Regions from separate parts of the Homo sapiens genome. Here regions 1, 2, 3, 4, 5 and 6 are each linked to region 7. The links are contacts of gene promoters, found by promoter capture Hi-C in blood cells and fetal thymus (Javierre and others, 2016). All regions are on one chromosome and are shown on one strand. Each heading gives the region's core, a stretch centred on a gene start or on the middle of the fragment in contact. The rest is flanking DNA. Distances are from core to core; before and after follow the strand shown.

Region 1 (3,037 bases), core at 269-2,768, 410 kb after region 7:
TCATATGTTATTAAATCTATACCTTAAATATATACAATTTAATACCTTAAATATATACAATGTTTATTGTCAATTATACTTAAAGCTGTAAAAAATATTGTTATGAATCAGAATACTTAAGGAAAACTACTTAGACATGAAACATAGTTTCAAAATTAATCTGTTTCAAATGCACCTTTACAAAATCTAAGAATATTCTTAGGCGTTCCAGAGCTGCTTCTCTCTGGATGGAGTCTGAAGAGAATAAGGTGTAGGAAAGCGTAGAGGTGGGAAAATAAGCACTGAGGTGGCTTTCTATCCGTGTCTGTCTAAAATAATACTTCTGCTATGTACCTTGCTAAAACACCCACTTTCCCTACAAACTGATTCTGAGCTTCTTCCAAGGATTATTTTTCCTTGTTTTGGCATGAAAAGCTTAAGCTCTTACTACCTTTTCTTTTTTTTTCCTGCAACCCTTTGGCAGTACAGAGTTTATAGCCACAGGACTGTTCCTATCTAAATAGAGAGCAATGCAGTGAAATTTTAAAAAGGCTTCTGATTGTTAATTTGAAGGACTTGATATTTTAAGACCAGTGAAAGTTACCTATACTCTTGAAATTTGAACACAATCTTTTTTGTAAAATTGGAAATGACATGAGAATCTAGCAGCATGACTCTTTTTTTCCTAACCAAGTAAGAAGTGTTATACAATTAATCGTGGCACATAGTAAACAGCGCAATTGATATTCTGTTGTATTCTGTTATTTAATATAGTTTAAGTTAAAGTTTATTTTTCTGGGGAAGCAATCATATTTTTCAGTTTTTGATTGTGAGAATTATATTGTGTATGTTGAAATCACAAAATAATTGAATGAAATTATGTATTTACTCAGTATAGTTTTGCTTAATAAGTAAATTAAAAGCTTATTTAATAATTTTAGATTACTTATGGACAAATAAAACTAGACTTCTGATGCCTTATGTAATACTCTATCAGAATAGATTATATTATGCTAAATCACTGTTTTTTTAGTTTTTTTGACGTTTAAGATTTTGACAGTTGCTTTATGTAATGACATTTTTATGGAATAAAAATGGCTTAAATATGTACAAGACCAAATTATTACTGTAGTCATATGTATTAAAATGAAGGATATGTTTTAGAAATGTGGTTAAATGATACTTTTATAAGAAGGCAAATTAATTATAAAGTTCAATAACTCACATAATTTAAGGTAGAAACCTGCTACTGGTTTGCAGTTCATTTCTATTATTTGTTTCTTATAATATTATAAATAATTTTTTTTCCTTTTTTGTGATGGAATCTCACTCTGTTGCCAGGCTGGAGCGCCATGGTGCAACCTCAGCCTCCTGGGTTCAAGTTATTCTCCTGCCTCAGCCTCCCAAATAGCTGGGACTACAGGCATGTGCCACCATGCCCAGCTAATTTTTTTTTTTTTTTTTTTTTGATGAAATCTCGCTCTGTCAACCAGGCTGGAGTGCAATGGCGCAGTCTCGGCTCACTGCAACCTCCGCTTCCCGGGTTCCAGCAATTCTCCTGACACAGCCTCCTGAATAGCTGGGATTACAGGCACGGCCCACCACGCCCGGCTGATTTTTTGTATTTTTAGTAGAGATGGGGTTTCACCATGTTGGTCAGGCTGGTCTCGAACTCCTGACCTCATGATCCACCTGCCTTGGCCTCTCAAAGTGCTGGGATTACAGGCGTGAGCACCGCACCCAGCTAATTTTTGTATTTTTAGTAGAGATGGGATTTCGCCATGTTGGCCAGACTGGCCTCGATCTCTTGACCTCGTGATCCACCTACCTTGGCCTCCCAAAGTGGTAGGATTACAGGCGTGAGCCACTGCGCCCGGCCTATAAATAATTTTTAAAAACATCTTTCTAATCATGCTGAGGAAGATACTTCTTAGATGTTCCTCTGATAAGTCTAGGCATTATGACACTGTTTAAGAGATCAGATGTTCTATTCTGACAAGCCATAGTAAATATAGACAGTACTACTCTTTTGTATGATAAATATTTTTGCTTTGACAATTAATTTGTCCTGGAACCTTATGTCAAAGAGATAGGAAAGAAAGTAAAAGACATCTTAGAAGAGATAGAAAGCAAAATACAAGTTTAACCAAGCTTTTATATTCAAACATGCAGGTTGTTCTGATTTCCTGAAGAATAAAAGAATACCACTATGTTTAGACAAGTCATGTTAGTTAGGAAAAGGATAGTTCATCTTGAGGCATTGATGACACAACTTTAGTTTAGACATGCAAAATTTTACATTTTGCCAACATTCATCTATTAATGTTCATATTTATTCATGTTCATATTTATTCAAGTAGCACCTACTGTGCCAGGACTGCACCAGGTGTTAGGAATATAAAATATCTCTCTCTGTTCTCTGTCGTGTGAGGATACAATAGGAAGATAGCCATCTGCAAACCAGGAAGTGTGTCCTCACCAGACACCAGATCTGCCAGCACCTTGATCTTGGACTTCATAGCCTCCAGAACTGACAGAAATAAATGTTTATTGTTTAAGCCACCCAGTTTTTGTTAATTTGTGATAGCCACCCAGACTAAGACATGTAGCAACAGTATGGAGAAAGAGGTATATTTTGAGAAAACAACCAGGTAAGTGATTTCAATGAAGTATGAGAGGTGCTTTTATTTAGGGAAAGCACAGGGTACTGTAACAGTATATGGCAGAAGGAATGCAAAACCTCGTAATTCACAGGGTATTGGATAGTATACTTAGAAGGGCCTTGCTACATGGAATACTTACTCCATGCTGCTTGAGTGCCATCTAAGAAATCTTAAAAGCAAGAATCAAAAGGTTCAAACAATTTTTAAGTAATTTGGCTGTGTCCCAGAACAAAGCTCAAGAATATATATAGAAATGTAAATCCAGCACCCAACAAAGTAAAATTCATAATGTCTGGATTTCAATCAGACATTACCAGACATTGCACAGAAGCAGGAAAATATGATCCATAATGAGGAGAAAAACGAATCAAAACCAATCTATAACTGGCATAGAT
Region 2 (3,032 bases), core at 8-2,507, 270 kb after region 7:
GCAGACTGTAGCTCAGGCTGCCTGAGCTCTGGAGATCTTCCTGGGTTGCTGGCACTGTCTGTGTGTCCTGTAATACCATGACTGATATATGTTGTATTCATGGCTGAATATCTTCAAAATAACTTGTGTATTCTCAAAGCTTACTTTAAAATCTAATTTTTAATTTCAATTAAGTTATTTAATTAATTAGAAAAGGCTATGTAAACACTAAAGGTTTTTATAATTTAATAGGCAAACTGCTTTACCATTTAATCCTTGATTAAATATTGAACCACTTTAGCAAAGTAGCCACCACACAAAGAATACTGAATAAGATATGGGCAAAAAGGAATAAAAAGAATAAAACAGACAAAAATCCCTCATTAAAATGACCAACTTGTCTGTTGTAGATAGTGGGGAATGTGTGTAATATCTGCTCTTATTCCCAGTTGTTGGAGCTTGAGTACATTAAGATTGAGCCACAGCATGAGAAATCAGAGTTCTTTTACTGTGCTGTAGTTCAATATAAGGCTTGATTGGCAACTTAGTGTAGGTCACAGATCTCTTAGCTGGCTAAAGGCAATGAAGATACTATGTAGCTCTTCAGGGGGACATAGTGGAAAGTGGCAAAAATAAATCTCAATTTTATCCCCCTAAAATAAAATGACAGAAAAATGTAGGGACCCAGTTTAAACTGGCATTTGGATTCTCTGAAATAGGGATTCTTTCTATTGGGATTGAGCACTAGCAGAGAGCTCACACTCAAATGTCTGGATGAAAGTGTAAAATTGAGAAGTTCAGTTTCAAAAAAAAATAGCATTCCTGCATTTTTTCAGAACTTATGGCATTGTGTTTCATATACTTTGTATTTTCCGATGCCTATTTTGGAGCTTCCATTATTTTGTTTCTATTGCTTTGCATGAGAGCCCTTATATAAGTGAGATTGAGTAGTAGGCAGATTCTATCTATAGCTTTTGTCCTCTTCTAAATATTACAGAATTTGTTTGTTTGTTTGTTTGTTTTTTTGAGATGGGAGTCTCGCTCTGTTGCCAGACTGGAGTGCAGTGGCACCATCTTGGCTCACTGGAACCTCTGACTCCTGGGTTCAAGCGATTCCCCTGCCTCAGCCTCCTGAGTAGCTGGGACTACAGGTGTGCGCCACCACGCCCAGCTAATTTTTCGTATTTTAGTAGAGACGTGGTTTCATCATGTTGGCCAGGCTGGTCTTGATCTCCTGACCTCGTGATCTACCCGCCTCGGCCTCCCAAAGTGCTGGGATTACAGGCGTGAGCTGCCGTGCCTGGCCGAATCTTTTTTTTAATTAAAAAAATTACAATAGTGATTTCTTTCAGTGTGTACCTTATTAGTCCCATATAACTTTGTTTCAGATAATCCCTATTAATGATACAGTTAAACATACATTTTAATAATCTGTGAAAACATTAATGCAATATTTTCTAAACTTTTCATTAACTACTATGTATTAATAAATTGGCATCGTTGGTTAACAGGGTTCTGAGGTCAGATAGGTTTATGGTATGGTGCATACTTATATCTCTTCTTAGAGATTTATAATGTACATTATAATGTCAAAGACTCAGAGTTGCTGAAGTAAATAATTATGTTCAGTCCAGGAGTTTCTTTAGGTGCCAAGGATGGAACAAAGTGACAAAGATGTCTATTCCTTTAGTGCTTTTGTATTTTGGAGGGCTTGTTTTGGTACAACTAAAATAAAAGGCCTTATAAAATTAGCCTACTCAAAATGTTCTCATTTTATTTGAGACATCTTTAGTGGGATAATTTAGCATGGTGCTTGGCACATAGTACAGGTGCACCTTGTTTTATTGTGCTCCACTTTATTATACTCAGTAGACAATATTATTTTTTACAAATTGAAGGTTTGTGGCCACCCTGCATAGAGCAAGTCTGTTGGTATTATTTTACCAAGGACATGGGCTCACTTTGTGTCTCCACATCACATTTTGGTAATTTTTCTTCTATTTCAAACTTTTTATTATTATTATATCTATTATGAGGTTCTATGATCAGTGATCTTTGATGCTACTGTTGAAATTGTTTTGGGATGCCACAAACCTCACCCACAGGAGATGGAGAATATAATTGATAAATGTTGTGTGTGTTCTCACTGCTCCACCAAACAGCTGTTTCCCATCTCTCTTCCTGTCTCTGAGACATGAAAGTATTACAATTAGGCCAATTAATAACCTACAATGGCCTCTAAGTGTTCAAGTGAAAGGAAGAATCATATGTCTTTTGCTTTAAATCAAAAGCTAGAAACGATTAAGCCTAATGAAGAAGACATGTCAAAAGCCAAGATAGACTGAAAGCTAGGCCCCTTGTGCCAAACAGCCAAGTTGAATGCAAAGAAAAGCTTCCTAAAGGAAATTAAAAGGGCTACTCCAGTGAACACACAAATGACAAGAAAGTAGAATAGCTTTATGGTCAATACGGAGAAAGTTTGAGTGGTTTGGTTAGAAGATATGGCCACAACATTCCCTTAAACCAAAGCCAAATCCAGAGGGAGATCCTAACTCTTCAGTTTGTGAAGACTAGGAGGCAAGGAAGTTGCAGAAGAAAATTTTGAAGCTAGCAGAGGTTGGTTCATGAGGTGTAAGGAAAGAACCCGTCTCCATAATATAAAAGTGCAAAGTGAAGAAGCAAGTGCTGATGATATATAAGCTGCAGCACATTATCCAGAAGATCTAAGATCATTGATGAGTGAGGCTACCCTAAACAAGAGATTTTCAGTGTAGTTGAAACAGCAGTCTATTAGAAGAATATGCCATGTAGGACTTCACAGCTAGAGAAAGTAGCCAATGCCTGGCTTCAAAGGACAGGCTGACTTTCTTGTTAGAGGTTAATGCAGCTGGTGACTTTAAGCTGAAGCCAATGCTTATTCTGAAAATCCTAGGAACCTTAAGAATGATGCTAAATCTACTCTGCCTGTGCACTATAAATGAAATGGAACAACAAAGCCTGGAAGACAGTACATCTATTTATAGCATGGCTTACTGGATATTTTAAGCCCACTG
Region 3 (2,730 bases), core at 193-2,692, 460 kb after region 7:
ATCAGAGATCTTTAGGAAGGGCAATGACCTGAATTCATACTAAACGGTGGATTCAGGCTCTGGTAGGCACCTGTGAGAGAGTTGTATACAAAATCCCTGCCCTCGAGAAGCCCTACAATGTGATGAATGAGAGAAGAGGCCATTACAGCATAGAAAGAAAATGGCTGTAGTGTGCTCTTAGAGCAAATCAGAAGGCCACCAAACCGAATCTTGGGAGGTGCATAGTTAGGAAAGTATTGTCAAAATAGTAAATGAAATCCAATTTCGCATTTAAGGATGAGTTATGACTTAGGCAAAGGAAGAGAGGGGAAGAAATTTCTAGGAAGAGGGAAAATAATTTACAGAGATCCAGAGGGAAAAGGAGAGAGAGAGAGACCAAGAAAAACTGGAGCTTAATTAGCTAAAGGGAGAGTAGCTGGTGATGAAGCTTGAGAGGGACTGCAGGGGCCTTGTAGGTTAGTAGAGTTTGAACTTGATCCTAAAGGCAGTACTAAACTACTGGAGGATTTTAAGCAGGAGACAGACATGTTCATATTTGCATTTTTAGAAAAATCACTCCAGCTCCATTGTGTAGTCAGAATTGCAGAGGAACAAGTCTGAAGATAGGGAGAGAATTTAGGAGTCTTTTACAGTACTCCAAGTGAATTTTTTTTTTTTTTGAGATGGAGTTTCGCTGTTGTTGCCCAGGCTGAGTGCAGTGGCGTGATCTCGGCTCACCGCAACCTCCGCCTTCTGGGTTCAAGCGAGTCTCCTGCCACAGCCTCCTGAGTAGCTGGGATTACAGGCATGTGCCACCACGCCCGGCTAATTTTTGTATTTTTAGTAGAGACAGGGTTTCCCCCTGTTGGTCAGACTGGTCTTGAACTCCTGACTTCATTATCTGCCCGCCTTGGCCTCCCAAAGTGCTGGGATTACAAGCGTGAGCCACTGTGCCCAGCCTACTCCAAGTAAAATTTAATGGTGGCCTTAACTAAGATAGTGGGATGGTAAGTATGGGGAGATAAGAAGTAGATTTGAGAGACAGAAATAAATGCAGGATATTGCAAAATAAGGGAATTCAAGGATAATAATTCTAGTTTCTGGCTCTAATCTGGGCAGATGTAGGTACCATTTTCTAAGCTAGAGAACACAAAATGGGGAATAGGTTTGAGGTGGGACAGATGAGGTTCCCATGAGTCCTCCAATTAGACATATCTGTTAAGCTGATAGACCTGTCCTAGGTTTGAGGTCTAGGACAGTAATCTAAACTAGAGATAAAAATTGCAGGGCCATATCATTTTAAGGGTACTTGAATCCACAGGGGTAGATGAATTGTCCAGGGAGAAAGTACAGAATGAGAGGGTAAGAGAATATACAACTGAACTACAAAAAACACTAATATTTAAAAGATGAACAAAAGAAGAACCCATTACAGATGCAGTGTTAGTAGGTTGGCTATGATAGCAGCTTAAGGAAGAGACTTTCTGAACTGATTCAAGATCAGTGGCAGTAGAATTAGAAAGGAATAAACAGTTCATAGTTATGTTTGATAGGCCTTAATTAACCAAAGTTAAGGTAGAAGAGAAAGAGAAGAATCAAGGATGATTCTGAGATTTCTACTTTGGGTCTCTGGATAAGTTTAGTGTCTTTATCTGAGTAATGAAAGACAGGAGATTGAAAAACTTTCAGATATATTTGAATTTGATACACAAGTCATTTCTGTTTATCTAGGCAGACTATTTCAACTAATCCCAAGTACTTTTTTCCTCTATTCAACATTTAAATATGTCTCCCTATAAATGACTCTCTAAAATATTAAAAAACTCAAAGTACCAAAAATTTAAAAAAGACATATTATATTATTATCTTTTGGTACATATAATGATGTGATCAAATGACTCAAGTGTGTCCTAAATATCAGCATTGGTTTCCTGCAGTTACTGAACTAGTGTGATTCTGGTCATAATGTCAAAATACATATAGTTAATGAGGAGTAGCTGCTTTCCATGGGTAGAAATAGCAGCAGACAATCATAATTCAAGTTCACACCCCAGTTTCTAATCTAGTTCCAAAGAGATGTTGACCTTCAAGAATGATCCAAATCTGGAGAACCTGTGTTGGAGTATCAGTTCACAGTTCATAAACTCTAATACCCAAGATCAGGCACAATCCTGATTATTAGTTCAGTACAAGGCAAGGAGGAATGGAAGCAACTGGAAAAGAGCTGATGTGGCTCCTTAAAGTAACAAGGCCCAGAAGGCTGGCTAGGATAAAGACTCAGATTCTCCAAAAAGCCAGACTTGGATATTAGGGAATTCCTGGTTCAAAAGAGACTTAGTCAAAAGGGTGCTAAATAGTTTTTCCAGCCTCTCCTGGTTGCAACTACTAAATTCTGAAGGGTGGTTACCTCCTATTGCCTTTGACTTTTAGATAATGATAATATTTTAAACTTATATTCTTAGTAAATGCAAAGCTTATTTTGAGATAGCTTGAATGGACTAGACCGAAAAAGAATTTAGCCTATTAGAATTAGTGAATAAGTAAAAGTAAAGAAGAATAATTTATAATTAGCAAATGAAGTCCCCGCCTAAGTATTTCTGAGCTCTACTTACTTTGTGATCATACTCTAAAAAATACATTGAAACATTTCTCCTAAATAGACAAACATACTCCTTTTTTTCCTGTTTATGTTACAGAACAAGCTCCCTCTTCCATGATAAGTATAGACTTAAATTCATTACCAAGTGGAAT
Region 4 (2,744 bases), core at 228-2,727, 390 kb after region 7:
CCAGGCCTTAAGTTATCTTCCTGCCTTGGCCTCCCAAAGTGCTGAGATTACAGATGTGAGCCTCTGTGCCTGGCCTGTTATTTATATTTTAGGAAATCTATATGTTAAAAGAAGACAGTAAGGCCAGGTGCGGTTGCTCACACCTGTAATCCAGCACTTTGGGAGGCTGAGGTGGGTGGGTCACCTGAGGTCAGGAGTTCGAGATCAGCCTGGCCAACATGACGAAAGCCCATCTCTACTAAAAATACAAAAATTAGCTGAGCATGGTGGTGCACGCCTGTAATCCCAGCTACTCGGGAGGCAGAGGCAAGAAAATTGCTTGAACTGGGGAGGTGGAGTTTGTAGTGAGCCAAGATTGCACCACTGCACTCCATCCTGCGTGATGCAGCAAGACTCCGTCTCAAAAAGAAAAAATAAAAGAAGACAGTAATCTCTCTGATTATGTTTACTATCAAGTTTCAGCAATTATTGAAGATTTTTCTTCAGATTTTTATCATTATTATATCTTCTATAAATGAAAAGTACATATTATAAAGTTAATTTTACTGTGTAGTAGCAAATCTAATATAAAAATTGAGTACATATGCATTAGGTTCAATATGAACTGTTTTCAGGAGAATGAATGCTTTCTTTTTGTGAATTTATGAGAATAATTATTGAACTAGTAATTTCTTAAATTTTTAAAATGGAAATCTGTCATCCTTTGTATCCTGAATTCTTAAAAGCATGAATTTCATAAAAATAAAGAAAACATAGTCTTGTTAAATACTTTATTTATTTTACTTTTAGTATTTCTTTAAAGTTCGTTAAAGAGAAAAATAACAGCAGCTCATAGATGTCAACCCCAAACAAAGATGAATGCTTTTATTTTGTAAAGATGGCTTTTCTTAGACAAAACAACCAGAGCTTTAATCTAATACTTAGACAAACTGAGCTTCTATACCAAGGGAAAAGCTATTTACTTTAAGGCTCAGTTTGTTAAAAAGGCTTTTGAAAAACTGAGTGAAAGGAAAAGGACTTAGCTGAGTTACAATTTGATTACTATCAATAAGGACATTTTTATATTTTTTAATATAGTAAGCTTTAAATCTAAATTTCTGAATGTTTTTATATTTTTAGTTAGAATTATGGTTAGAATTTATAGTTAGAATAAAGTTTGAACCAATCAAGACATTTCTTTTTGAAGCAATTATGTGACCTTTTCATCTTTTAAATATAATTTTTCTGTGCATATCCTTGCTTAAATTGAGACAGTCAAGTGGGAAATTTTGAGGAGACAGAACACAGAGCCTCCATTAGGAGAACAAGACTATTCTTCCTAGTTTTTTTCTGCAAAATATAAAATACACTTTATCTCATAAACTCATATACTTTAATCATTGTACTATGCTTAATTTTAGGCAATAAGGAGCTACAACTGATAGATTCTCCCAGCAAAAACATTTTCATTTGTCTTCTATGAGAAACAGTTACCATTTTTTCTCTACTGTTTTTAAAAGGTTGAAATGGAATTTTTCAACTTAGAGTTATTCTTGTTCTTACTGGATCTTTCCTCTTGGCTCTGCAGGTTTCTGTTAACATGATACAGCCTTCACAAAATTGTAAGGTATAAAGTAACAGATTTTTAGAGCTAACAGTGACTTTTCGGATCACCTAGTCAAACACCTCCATTCTACATTTAACCCAAATGCCGCTCAAGCCTTCTATCCATCCTGTCGCCTCTTTAGTATTCTTCATGTCCTCAGGGATTATATGCTCATGGTTATTCCCAGTTTAGCATTTCTGGCCTTAAGGGACTCGATCTTACTTACAGCATACCTTGCCCACTGTTCTTCTTCTCTATGTTCCTGGCAGAGCAGGCAATAAAAGCTTGAATTGTAATTAATTGTTGCCTATCAGTTACCAGACCATTAGTATGCTTATAGAACCAGAGTAGTAGACTGTTTATTTGACCTATGAAACCTGCACTTTTACGTAACTTTCTCTTGGATTCTTTGATGCTGTCATTAGAAAAGCAGAATATTTTGTATTTGGCCTATATTTTTTCCTTTATTGTAGATCTGAGATTTTTCGTGGTCTAAAGACCTCCATAATGAACATAATTATATTGAAGATTATCTTTAATCATCTTACGCCTGAAGAATAAGGTACTGGGATCATAGTGGAACTAGAAGCTGAGCACTTTGAAATCAGCATTTGGTGTTAACATATGGTGTCATTGTATGTCCTTGCCTTCTATTAGCAAATCATTTTTTTTTTTTTTACCTACACTGAAATTTTTTAGGAATATTCCAGTTAAAATGTTTTCCCTTATAAGTACCTTGACATTGAACAGATATATACTTAATGTAATGTACTAGGCCTGACTGTATGAGGACTGATAATAAGGTATGTCTCTTTCATACAGAAATGATCTACTAGGGTCAAATAATAATTTTAACACAAGGCAGATAAAAGCAATAAAACCTGGGAATATAAACATCGGGGTTGGGTGACTTTTCCCAACCAAAATTAAGATTTATAGTTTAAACTTAGAACTAACATAGAAAACCAGTATTATTTTCATTCATATTGGATATCTTTTGGCTGAGTTGTCATTTGGTTGAGTTGAATTTGGAGTTAACATGGATTCTCCACTGTCAAGGATATAACCACTGTGATTCTGTTTCTTCTACCCACGAGTACAGGGGTACTACCCCTGTTTTTTTCTCAAACAGGTCAATACCATCTAATTGCTATACAGT
Region 5 (2,991 bases), core at 315-2,814, 480 kb after region 7:
CAGTATTCATAGCACTACATGTTCTATCAAATAGGGATGATGTAATATGACTTTTGAGGAAAGACAACAGATTGAAATATTATTTTCCCTGGGTTTTCATTGATACTCGCCATTTGGTGAAGAGAACATTCTATTTGTCTCAGATTAGTGGACTGATGTAGAAAAGAATTTTTATAGAAATTGTTTCTCCTATTAATTACAAGACTGTGAACCTTGAAAAATCCTAATCAGCGGGTAGTCATTTTTATCTTCCTTGTTCACTGATATATCTAGCCACTTAGAACAGTGCCTTTGTGGGTGTTTAATAAATATTTGATGAGCAGGACATGATGGTTCATACCTGTAATTCCAGCACTTTGGGAAGTCAAGGCAGGATAATCACTTGAGCCCAGGAGTTTGAGACCAGCCTGGGCAGCAGAGCGAGCACCCATCTCTACAATTTTATTTTATTTTTTTTTTTGAGATGGAGTCTCACCCTGCCACCCAGGCTGGAATGCAATGGCATGGTCTTGGCTCACTGCAACCCCGGCCTCCCAGGTTCAAGCAATTCTCCTGCCTCAGCCTCCCAAGTAGCTGGGACTACAGGCACATGCCACCACATCTGGCTAATTTTTTGTATTTTTTACTAGAGATAGGGTTTCACTATGTTGGCCAGGATGGCCTTGAACTGCTGACGTCATGATCCGCCCACCTTGGCCTCCCAAAGTGTTGGGATTACAGGTGTGAGTCACCACGTCCGGCCTGCAATTTTTTTTTTTAATACCCAGGTGTGGTGTTGTGTACCACACCTGTAGTCCCAGCTACTCAGGAGGCTGAGGTGGAAGGATTACTTGAGCCTGGGAGGTTGAGGCTGCAGGGAGCCATGATCATGGCACTGCACTCCAGCCTGGACAATGGAGCAAGACCCTGTTAATCTATCTATCTATCTATCTATCTATCTATCTATCTATCTATCTATCTATCTGTTTTGTTCATTCAAATATATATATGTTTTTGATATATATATGTTTTTGAATATATATATATGTTTTTGAATGAACAAATTTCTACCATACTTTCTCATTGTTAAGTGTAGCTTTTTTATTCTCCTAATTGACCTTTAATCTGACACAACAAAGAGGACTGTTGTGTTGTGGGATATTTAATCTTTAGGTTTTTCTTTTTCTCTATGAAGCATGGTAATAATTTTCTTTAGCTCCTTGATGAAAATGGTTTGTGCCTTAGGAACATATGCCTTTATCCCCACTCCCTGCCTCACCCACACACACTTCAAATATTTATAGCTATCTACATTATACTAATCTTTATATTTAAATGTAATACTAAAAATAATTAACACAGAATCATTGGTTCCTTATTTTAAAAGGGACTTTAGAAGTCACCTGGTTTAACTCTCTCATTTTAAGGTTGAGAAAACTAAAGCCCTGAAAGATGATTAGCTCAGGGACACTGCTAATTAATAGAGGTACAGAAACTAAAACCCAGGTCTTTGACTCCCAGTCAAATGTTATTTCCACACACATTACAAATAATCCTTTCTGGGGAAGGCTTTTTTCCAGTTAAAACACTGATTCACCATCATGATACCTTCAAACAAGTATTTGTTACTCAAACTTAAAAAAAAAAAAGAATGTTGCCCCAAACATAAAGAGTAAACACATTTTAAGAGCCAAACACTCTTTTCTGCCTGTTTTTTTGTTTCGTTTTGTTTTGAGAAAGAGTCTTGCTCTGTCACCCAGGCTGAAGTGCAGTGGCGTGATCTCCGTTCACTGCAACCTCCGCCTCCTGGGTTCAAGCGATTCTCCTCCCTCAGCCTCCCAAGTAGCTGGGATTACAGGCGTGTGCCACCAAGCCCAGCTAATTTTTTGTATTTTTAGTAGAGATGGGGTTTCGTCATGTTGCCCAGGCTGGTCTCAAACTCCTGGCCTCAAGTGGTCTGCCCACCTCGGCCTCCCAAAGTGCTGGGATTACAGGCATGAGCCACCTCGCCCAGCCCAAAGACTCTTGAAGAACCTATTCTTCTCAGATTGCTAAAGCAGGGAATACTGACATGTCTGTCAATAGATATAATTTATATTAGCATAATCTCTTGGACAGATTAGCATTTTACCATAAAATAATTAAAATTGGGGTTAACATTTTGAATTTCATTTGAAAGCAAATTGACTTCTGAATAGTGAAGTACAGATACTAGTGCAGATTATTCTCAGTTGCTAGTATGCAAACGCTTTTAGATTCTGTTGCTGTGTCTACGCAAGCTAATTCACTAGGCAGTTGAGGACTTAGGTGGTTATCTAGATAACATAAGGGAAGGATCAATCTGAATACTAAGCCATGTTATAACAGCACTAATTTTGTGTTAAAAATACTTTAACCATAGTAATCTTATATTTCAGGTAAAAGTAGTAGTTTTTAGCTATATTAACCGATTGTTTTGTCTTTTTGTGCTTTAATTGTGTGAAGATTAGAGTTTATAAGTGGTTTTCTATTTCTTTTTTTTTGGCCTCCAAAAAAACATACAAATTTGAACTTAAAGGAGGACATATAAGAGTAATAAATTGACTAAAAACAGAATCTGTCTCTTTCTCTTGATCTCATTTTGTAGTAACCTGCAGGTTCCCAGCTAGCACATACACTGACCCTCCCTCACAGCAGCTCCTTCACAGGGCCTCAGTCAGGTAGGAGGGTATAGACAGTTCCATTAACATACACTCATTCACAATGCCATCCATTTGGGGAAAAAAAATTCTCCTTTTACATATACCACTAAATAAACACTGTATCATCTTCTTACATTCAGATCAACACGCAGATCTCAAGTGTTCTTCTGTTTCAAGTGAGGCACTTCTAAATATTTATCTCAACATTTGGTATTTAGTAATATTTTTCACATAATTTTACCTTGTATTCTACTTCAAAGTGGTTGTATTACAGACAAAAATTATTAGTAACCTATTTTTATGTCTCCATGTTTCAAAAACTAAATTGATA
Region 6 (2,783 bases), core at 67-2,566, 350 kb after region 7:
TGGAGTGCAGTGGCACAATCATAGCTCGCTGCAGCCTCCATCTCCCGGGCTTAAGTGATCCTCCCACCTAAGCCTCCTGAGTAGCTGGGACTAAAGGAGCATATCACCATGCCCAGCTACTTTTTCATATTTTTTTGTAGCGATGAGGTTTTGCTGTTGTTGCTCAGGCTGGTCTCAAACTCCTGGGATCGAGACTCACTCGCCTCTGCTTCTGCCTGCCAAAGTGCTGGGATTACAGGCATGAGCCACCACAACCAGCCTATACCTCATTTTTATTTAACAAAATAAAAATATAGAGCACCTTTTAAAGTGACTTTGGTCCCCTGTATTTATATCCTGAAATCAAATATATATAACATTGTAGAGAAAATAAAATATAAGATTATTCTAAGAATTCTGTTTCTTTCACCTGGTGGTGGAAAGTCCAATCTTGTAGTATGCTAGCACTCTAATTATTTTAGAACCTAATGAATAATATCAGGTATAGCTAAGAATAACCAAATACCCACAGGAAAACAAGTGCAATGGCATTAGTTAGCTCACTAGAATGGTATAATATTTATAATTGGCTTACTGGTTTTTACTCATCTGGTATGTCTTTCCTATAACAGGCAAGGTATAATAACTATTTGAGTTGGGTTAAACTAAGCATCGTATAAGACAGTGTAGGTGACAACGGGGCTAGAAGGAGGAGGCTGATAAGAGTGAGAAGGGAGAAAAAGTGTTAGCAAGAGAGAAGGCAAAAAACATAGGCCATAGAGAACAAAACTAAAATTCAGCATGGGAGAAGAGGAAAGGCATGTGGAATACAGAGGAAAATTTGGTGGGGAGAGAACATTGTAAAAAACGGAGGGAATCTTCATTAAATGTAAAGGACTCAAAAGAAAAATGAGGCAAATGTTACTCAAGTTAATTAGAAAACTTTTTATTTCGCTATACTAGCTATATGAGACTTTTTCTATAATATTTTTAGTACCTTTAAGCTTCTTTTAAAATTACTTTTGCGTATGTCATCTCTTTGTCTCTGTATAAAACACTGTAAAATACATAACATTTATTTTCTCTTTTTACATAAATCAAAAAACTATTTGCCCAAGGTCAAATTTAGAGTTAGAATTCAAGTTCCTGAATTGTAACCAGTGCTCATCTCAGTAACACATATTTCTTAATCACAGAGCTCAATTCAGTGTCCCACTATTAATAAGTCATTAATTACATTTCCCATTTGAGCATTGTGAGTGGCTAATTCCAGGCAGTGTATATAAATGGGACTCAAAAGTTTTCTCTTCTGAGTCATGTCTATATTGAGGCATCCACGGATCCCTGGCAGCTGCATGTAGGGTGAGGGGGTGGTTGCCATAGGATATTCAGGAAATGAGTTGGTGCATGGGGTCAAAGGTAGGCTAACAATGTGCTTGCTGTCTTATCTGGTACAGATATCCATCCCACTCTTATAATAGCTGATGCTGCTCAGACTGCTGGAACTGTAGAAACCTGCCCATAATCAGAATAAGGAGTCTTGCATTAAGAACTCTTAAAACCACACTCACGTTAGAAACAAAATAACGTAATAATTAAAAGGCTCAAGCCCAGCTCTGCCACTGTGTGACTTTAGGCAAATTATTTAATCTAATTTAACCTAAGCTTCAGTTCCTTCATCTACAAAGTGGGGATAATAATTAGAAGGATTAGATGTTGAATATGTGATACTTCGTATATGATGCTTGTATAGTACTTACTCAATAATGGTAACTATCTTCATTATATTTTAAAATAGAAATTGATTTCTAATCCAGGAGTATTGTGAGAATTTTATAAAAGTGAAGCAAAATTTAATGCTTTCATTTTTAAAGGTATTAAGTAATGCTAGGGAATAATATTAATACAAGTTATACATATGGGGAAGTTCTAAGATGAAGAACAGGTACATACACATTTCATGTGAAACTGTTTTTGGTCTTATGAATGGATAGGATAGTTTTCTTAAACAGAGATTGTCAGTAACTAACATTCATTGATATATTTTTGGGACAAAGACAAATGACTTCCTTAGTTATTAAGACTTGAGCTTATAACAACGTGGCTTGTTCCTCAGAAAAAATGTTTTCCATGGCGTTTTATTGTTTTGTTCTGTCTTTTAAAAAATTTTTGTTGTCGGGTAGTCCTAGATCTGGCCAGTGGCATAAGTTGTATAATTATGTTAGCATTCCATCTTCTGGGACACATCTGGCATGTTTATTCACCCTTGTAGACTTCTCTGACAACCATTTTGCTTTCTGTGTTCCCTTGAGATATTAACAAGCTACCTAAGTCATTTCAACTTACATTCTCAGGAATAGAGGGAGATACAGTGTTTGGTTGAGAATCTTCAACTTGGGAATGCCGTATTTTCTCTTGATTTATGAGGGGAAGATTTTAATAATAATAAATGATATGAGATCAAAGACTTCAATACTTTGTAAGTTTTGCTTCTCTGTATTCAGTCTGTGTCTTCATTTGTAAAATATAAAATTTTCACTTGTTTCTGCTTGGGAATAAAGAGTGTATAAAACTCTAAAGTATTATTCATGATGATGAACCCATTACATTTCAAGGATAATATTTGCTTTCATGTTTAATAGTTGTAGGATTAGAGGAACTGAGAAGCTCCTTAGTCACCAGCATCTCAGGTTGTAGAGGGGCAAAGTCTGCATCTTTAGAGGTTCAAAATTTTCTGAGCTTGGCCCTCTTGGAGATAAAGGAACAAGTACAGTGGATCATCAGAATAGCTTACTAAAGTACAT
Region 7 (2,785 bases), core at 192-2,691:
AAGTTTGATAGGTTAGACAGAAAAATGGTTAATATTGGCCGGGCGCGGTGGCTGACGCCTGTGATCCCAGTACTTTGGGAGGCCGAGGCAGGCGGATCACAAAATCAGGAGTTCCGGACCAGCCTGGCCAATATGGTGAAACCCCGTCTCTACTAAACTTACAAAAATTAGCTGAGCGTGGTGGCGGGCACCTGTAGTCCCAGCAACTCGGGAGGCTGAGGCAGGAGAATTGCTTTAACCCGAGAGGCAGAGGTTGCAGTGAGCCGAGATCGTGCCACTGCACTCCAGCCTGGGCGACAGAGCAAGACTCTGTCTCAAAAAAAAGAAAAGAAAAATGGCTAATATCCTACAAGGCACTAAAACTACAACCTTTAGGAGTACTGTATTTTTTTCTCTCCCACTCAGAAATAATTTGCATCTCCATTAATGAAAAAGATGTTAACTACAAAGCCTAGGCCCTAATCAATATCATCATGCCAAACAAAATATAGTCCCCTAGACATCTAAATCATCTTCAGGTGGGCCTGTTAGGCTCCATTTTGACTCTGAAAAAAACATGCTGTCCTTTTGCCTTATTTCCAATACTTTTGTAATTTTTACCGCCACTAAAAGTTTCTATAAATCAGTCAACTATTCCTTTATCATTCTCCGGTCCTCCCCGCCAATTCTTGATTTTATAGGTTTTTTGGGAGGTTTAAAAAAAAAAGAAAGACCTGTTGGCTCTAAATATCAAGTTATTCCTCCTGATACTTAATCTGAAACTTCAAATTAAGTTGGACTCAGCCACTGGAAGCCCCAGTAATTTAATACTGTTTCAACCAAAGATTTGCTATCAGTATGTGGATTTTAAACACAAAGTAGTTACTACCCACTTCGAGGGTGCTTTGGGTACTGGGCCAGGTGTGCTGGTGACACCGTGTGCGCGACGGGGACCGGGTCCCCGAGGAGGGAGTGTCCTCGCCCTTCCCCGCTCGCGGCGGCCAGCACAGGCCTGCAGTTACCGGCGGGGACCCGCTTCCCCGGCCTTTTGTTCAGGACTGGGCTGTTTCCCGCCTACCCGCGCGTGCCCTTCCTCCCTGTCCTAGGAGTGGGGCAAGGACCGTGTGGGAAGCAGAGCCGGGAGGAGACAACCGGCAAGGGCTGTGGGGAATACTCACCCCTCTCCGCTCGGCCCCTGACCCCGCAGCCCAGCCCGGCGAGGGCGGGGCGACGGGGCCAGGGGGAGGAGAGCTGGGGAGAGGGACCCAGCGCCCTGCGAGGCCACTGCCGCGCCGGTGACCCTACGGAACTGAATGATGGGACTGCGGGGGCCTCGAGGGCGGAGGAAGAGCCGAGCCAGCGCGCCCCGAGGCCAACCAGAAGTGGCCGTGGCCTCCTTCAGTCAGGTCCGCGGCCTCCTTCAGTCAGGTCCGCCACGGCCGAGTCGGAGCGTGCGCACTGCGCCTTCCCGCGCCGTGGGGGCCGCCTAGCGCAGGCCGGTGACGTGATCGGCCGCGCGCTCTGGGCAGGGCGGGGCTGAGACCCAGGCCGGGACTGGGAGCGGGTGGAGAGGAGGGAAGCGAGACCTCCCCGCCGCCCGCGACCACCCCCGCCAAGGCCCCGCCCCTCGCCTGGCGGGCAGCTCTCCCCCGCCAACCCCCACCTCCAACCCAACGCAGGCGGTGCCCTCCGCGGAGCACAAAGGCGGCTCGTTGACGGGGGAGCGGGTTACTAGCATCCCCCTAAGAGGTTGGGGAACCATGCCAGCATGCTTACGCTACAAAAAGTCCTGTAAACACCACAATTAAGCACAAGCACGGCTACCCCTTGAAAACTTACGGATGGAGGGAGAAGTTAGGAATTCGAATATTGACAATAGTACCATCTGTGGCACATATCCCAGAGGAGAAAAAAAAAAAACTAGCAGCAAAATTAAATTGGGGCGAAACGATGGGGATAAAGACTAGAAAAAATGTAGGAGTAACAGGGGTAATCGAACTGAAATAGCAGACATCTGAAAGAAAACTAGCATCTGCTCCTTCTAACAACAGAGTTAAATTTGTTGGAAATGAAAGGAGAAAATGCAGGCGAAGAAGTGAAAGGAAAACCTGCCTTCAAACTACATGACATAGTTTTTTGATCTTGTACTACAGTTGTGTAAGATGTCACCATTGGAGGAAACTAGGTGATAGGTACACGGGACTCTAGGTGCTGTAGTATTTTTGCAATTTCCTGTGTCTATAATTATTTCCAAATAATAAGTGTTTTTAAAAGGAGAGAATACTGATCAGTGGCGACCAGGGCAAAGGGCTGGAGGAAGGGGGTGACTGAAAAGGAGCTTGAGAGCTTCTATACCGTGATTGTGTTGGTGACTAAACCACTGTTTGACAAAACCCATAAGAGGTATAAATTTTACTGCATGTGAAATAGTTTAAAACTCAAAATGATGCGACTAATAAAAATGAACTTACACTAACATTTTTTAGCAACTATGGATATAAATTAATTGGTAGCTGCCAATTTAGATTATCCATTTAATTTTTTTAAAAGCACAAGGCAGTGTGTTCTGAATGAGAGCTTAAGTAGACCAGGTGTCTCCATCAACTTTAAGTATTTACCTTAAAAACGTATTTCACAGATGAAAACAAGAATGCGGCTGGGCGCAGTGGCTCACGCCTGTAATCCCAGCACTTTGGGAGCCCGAGGTAGGAGGATCGCTTTAGCCCAGGAGTTCAAGACCAGCTATGGGCAAGGCAGTGAGACCTCATCTCTACAAAAATTTTTCAAAATAACAATAAATTTTTAA

What was found. Contacts are between HindIII fragments. The CHiCAGO score rates a contact against its expected background, and 5 or more counts as called.
Region 1: a contact is called between a fragment that was not itself captured here and the fragment with the promoter of ATG10 in region 7, in 5 of 17 cell types (naive B cells, naive CD8 T cells, naive CD4 T cells and 2 more). The highest score is 7.3, in naive B cells.
Region 2: a contact is called between a fragment that was not itself captured here and the fragment with the promoter of ATG10 in region 7, in 1 of 17 cell types (total CD8 T cells). The highest score is 5.3, in total CD8 T cells.
Region 3: a contact is called between a fragment that was not itself captured here and the fragment with the promoter of ATG10 in region 7, in 14 of 17 cell types (non-activated CD4 T cells, fetal thymus, naive CD4 T cells and 11 more). The highest score is 11.4, in non-activated CD4 T cells.
Region 4: a contact is called between a fragment that was not itself captured here and the fragment with the promoter of ATG10 in region 7, in 1 of 17 cell types (total B cells). The highest score is 5.0, in total B cells.
Region 5: a contact is called between a fragment that was not itself captured here and the fragment with the promoter of ATG10 in region 7, in 14 of 17 cell types (total B cells, fetal thymus, naive CD4 T cells and 11 more). The highest score is 10.9, in total B cells.
Region 6: a contact is called between a fragment that was not itself captured here and the fragment with the promoter of ATG10 in region 7, in 3 of 17 cell types (non-activated CD4 T cells, total B cells and fetal thymus). The highest score is 6.1, in non-activated CD4 T cells.

What each region holds. Positions count from the first base shown.
Region 1 is chr5:81,557,795-81,560,831 of GRCh38, reverse strand. All of the region lies in intron 4 of SSBP2 (single stranded DNA binding protein 2), which reads left to right. Among named protein-coding and RNA genes, the nearest start is that of ACOT12, 170 kb to the right of the region's middle. The HindIII fragment of the contact is 1,228 bases long and covers 905-2,132 here.
Region 2 is chr5:81,700,344-81,703,375 of GRCh38, reverse strand. All of the region lies in intron 1 of SSBP2 (single stranded DNA binding protein 2), which reads left to right. Among named protein-coding and RNA genes, the nearest start is that of SSBP2, 49 kb to the left of the region's middle. The HindIII fragment of the contact is 2,232 bases long and covers 142-2,373 here.
Region 3 is chr5:81,508,690-81,511,419 of GRCh38, reverse strand. All of the region lies in intron 5 of SSBP2 (single stranded DNA binding protein 2), which reads left to right. Among named protein-coding and RNA genes, the nearest start is that of ACOT12, 120 kb to the right of the region's middle. The HindIII fragment of the contact is 2,025 bases long and covers 430-2,454 here.
Region 4 is chr5:81,580,270-81,583,013 of GRCh38, reverse strand. All of the region lies in intron 4 of SSBP2 (single stranded DNA binding protein 2), which reads left to right. Among named protein-coding and RNA genes, the nearest start is that of SSBP2, 170 kb to the left of the region's middle. The HindIII fragment of the contact is 788 bases long and covers 1,084-1,871 here.
Region 5 is chr5:81,491,225-81,494,215 of GRCh38, reverse strand. The region is part of intron 5 of SSBP2 (single stranded DNA binding protein 2); the gene reads left to right. Among named protein-coding and RNA genes, the nearest start is that of ACOT12, 99 kb to the right of the region's middle. The HindIII fragment of the contact is 3,239 bases long and covers 1-2,991 here.
Region 6 is chr5:81,625,253-81,628,035 of GRCh38, reverse strand. All of the region lies in intron 3 of SSBP2 (single stranded DNA binding protein 2), which reads left to right. Among named protein-coding and RNA genes, the nearest start is that of SSBP2, 120 kb to the left of the region's middle. The HindIII fragment of the contact is 661 bases long and covers 986-1,646 here.
Region 7 is chr5:81,970,679-81,973,463 of GRCh38, reverse strand. ATG10 (autophagy related 10) reads right to left here and starts at 1,441. Exons shown (of 8, transcript NM_031482.5): 1 at 1,158-1,441. RefSeq lists silencers at 1,041-1,280, 1,451-1,780 and enhancers at 795-1,350, 1,351-1,908. The HindIII fragment of the contact is 10,147 bases long and covers 1-2,785 here.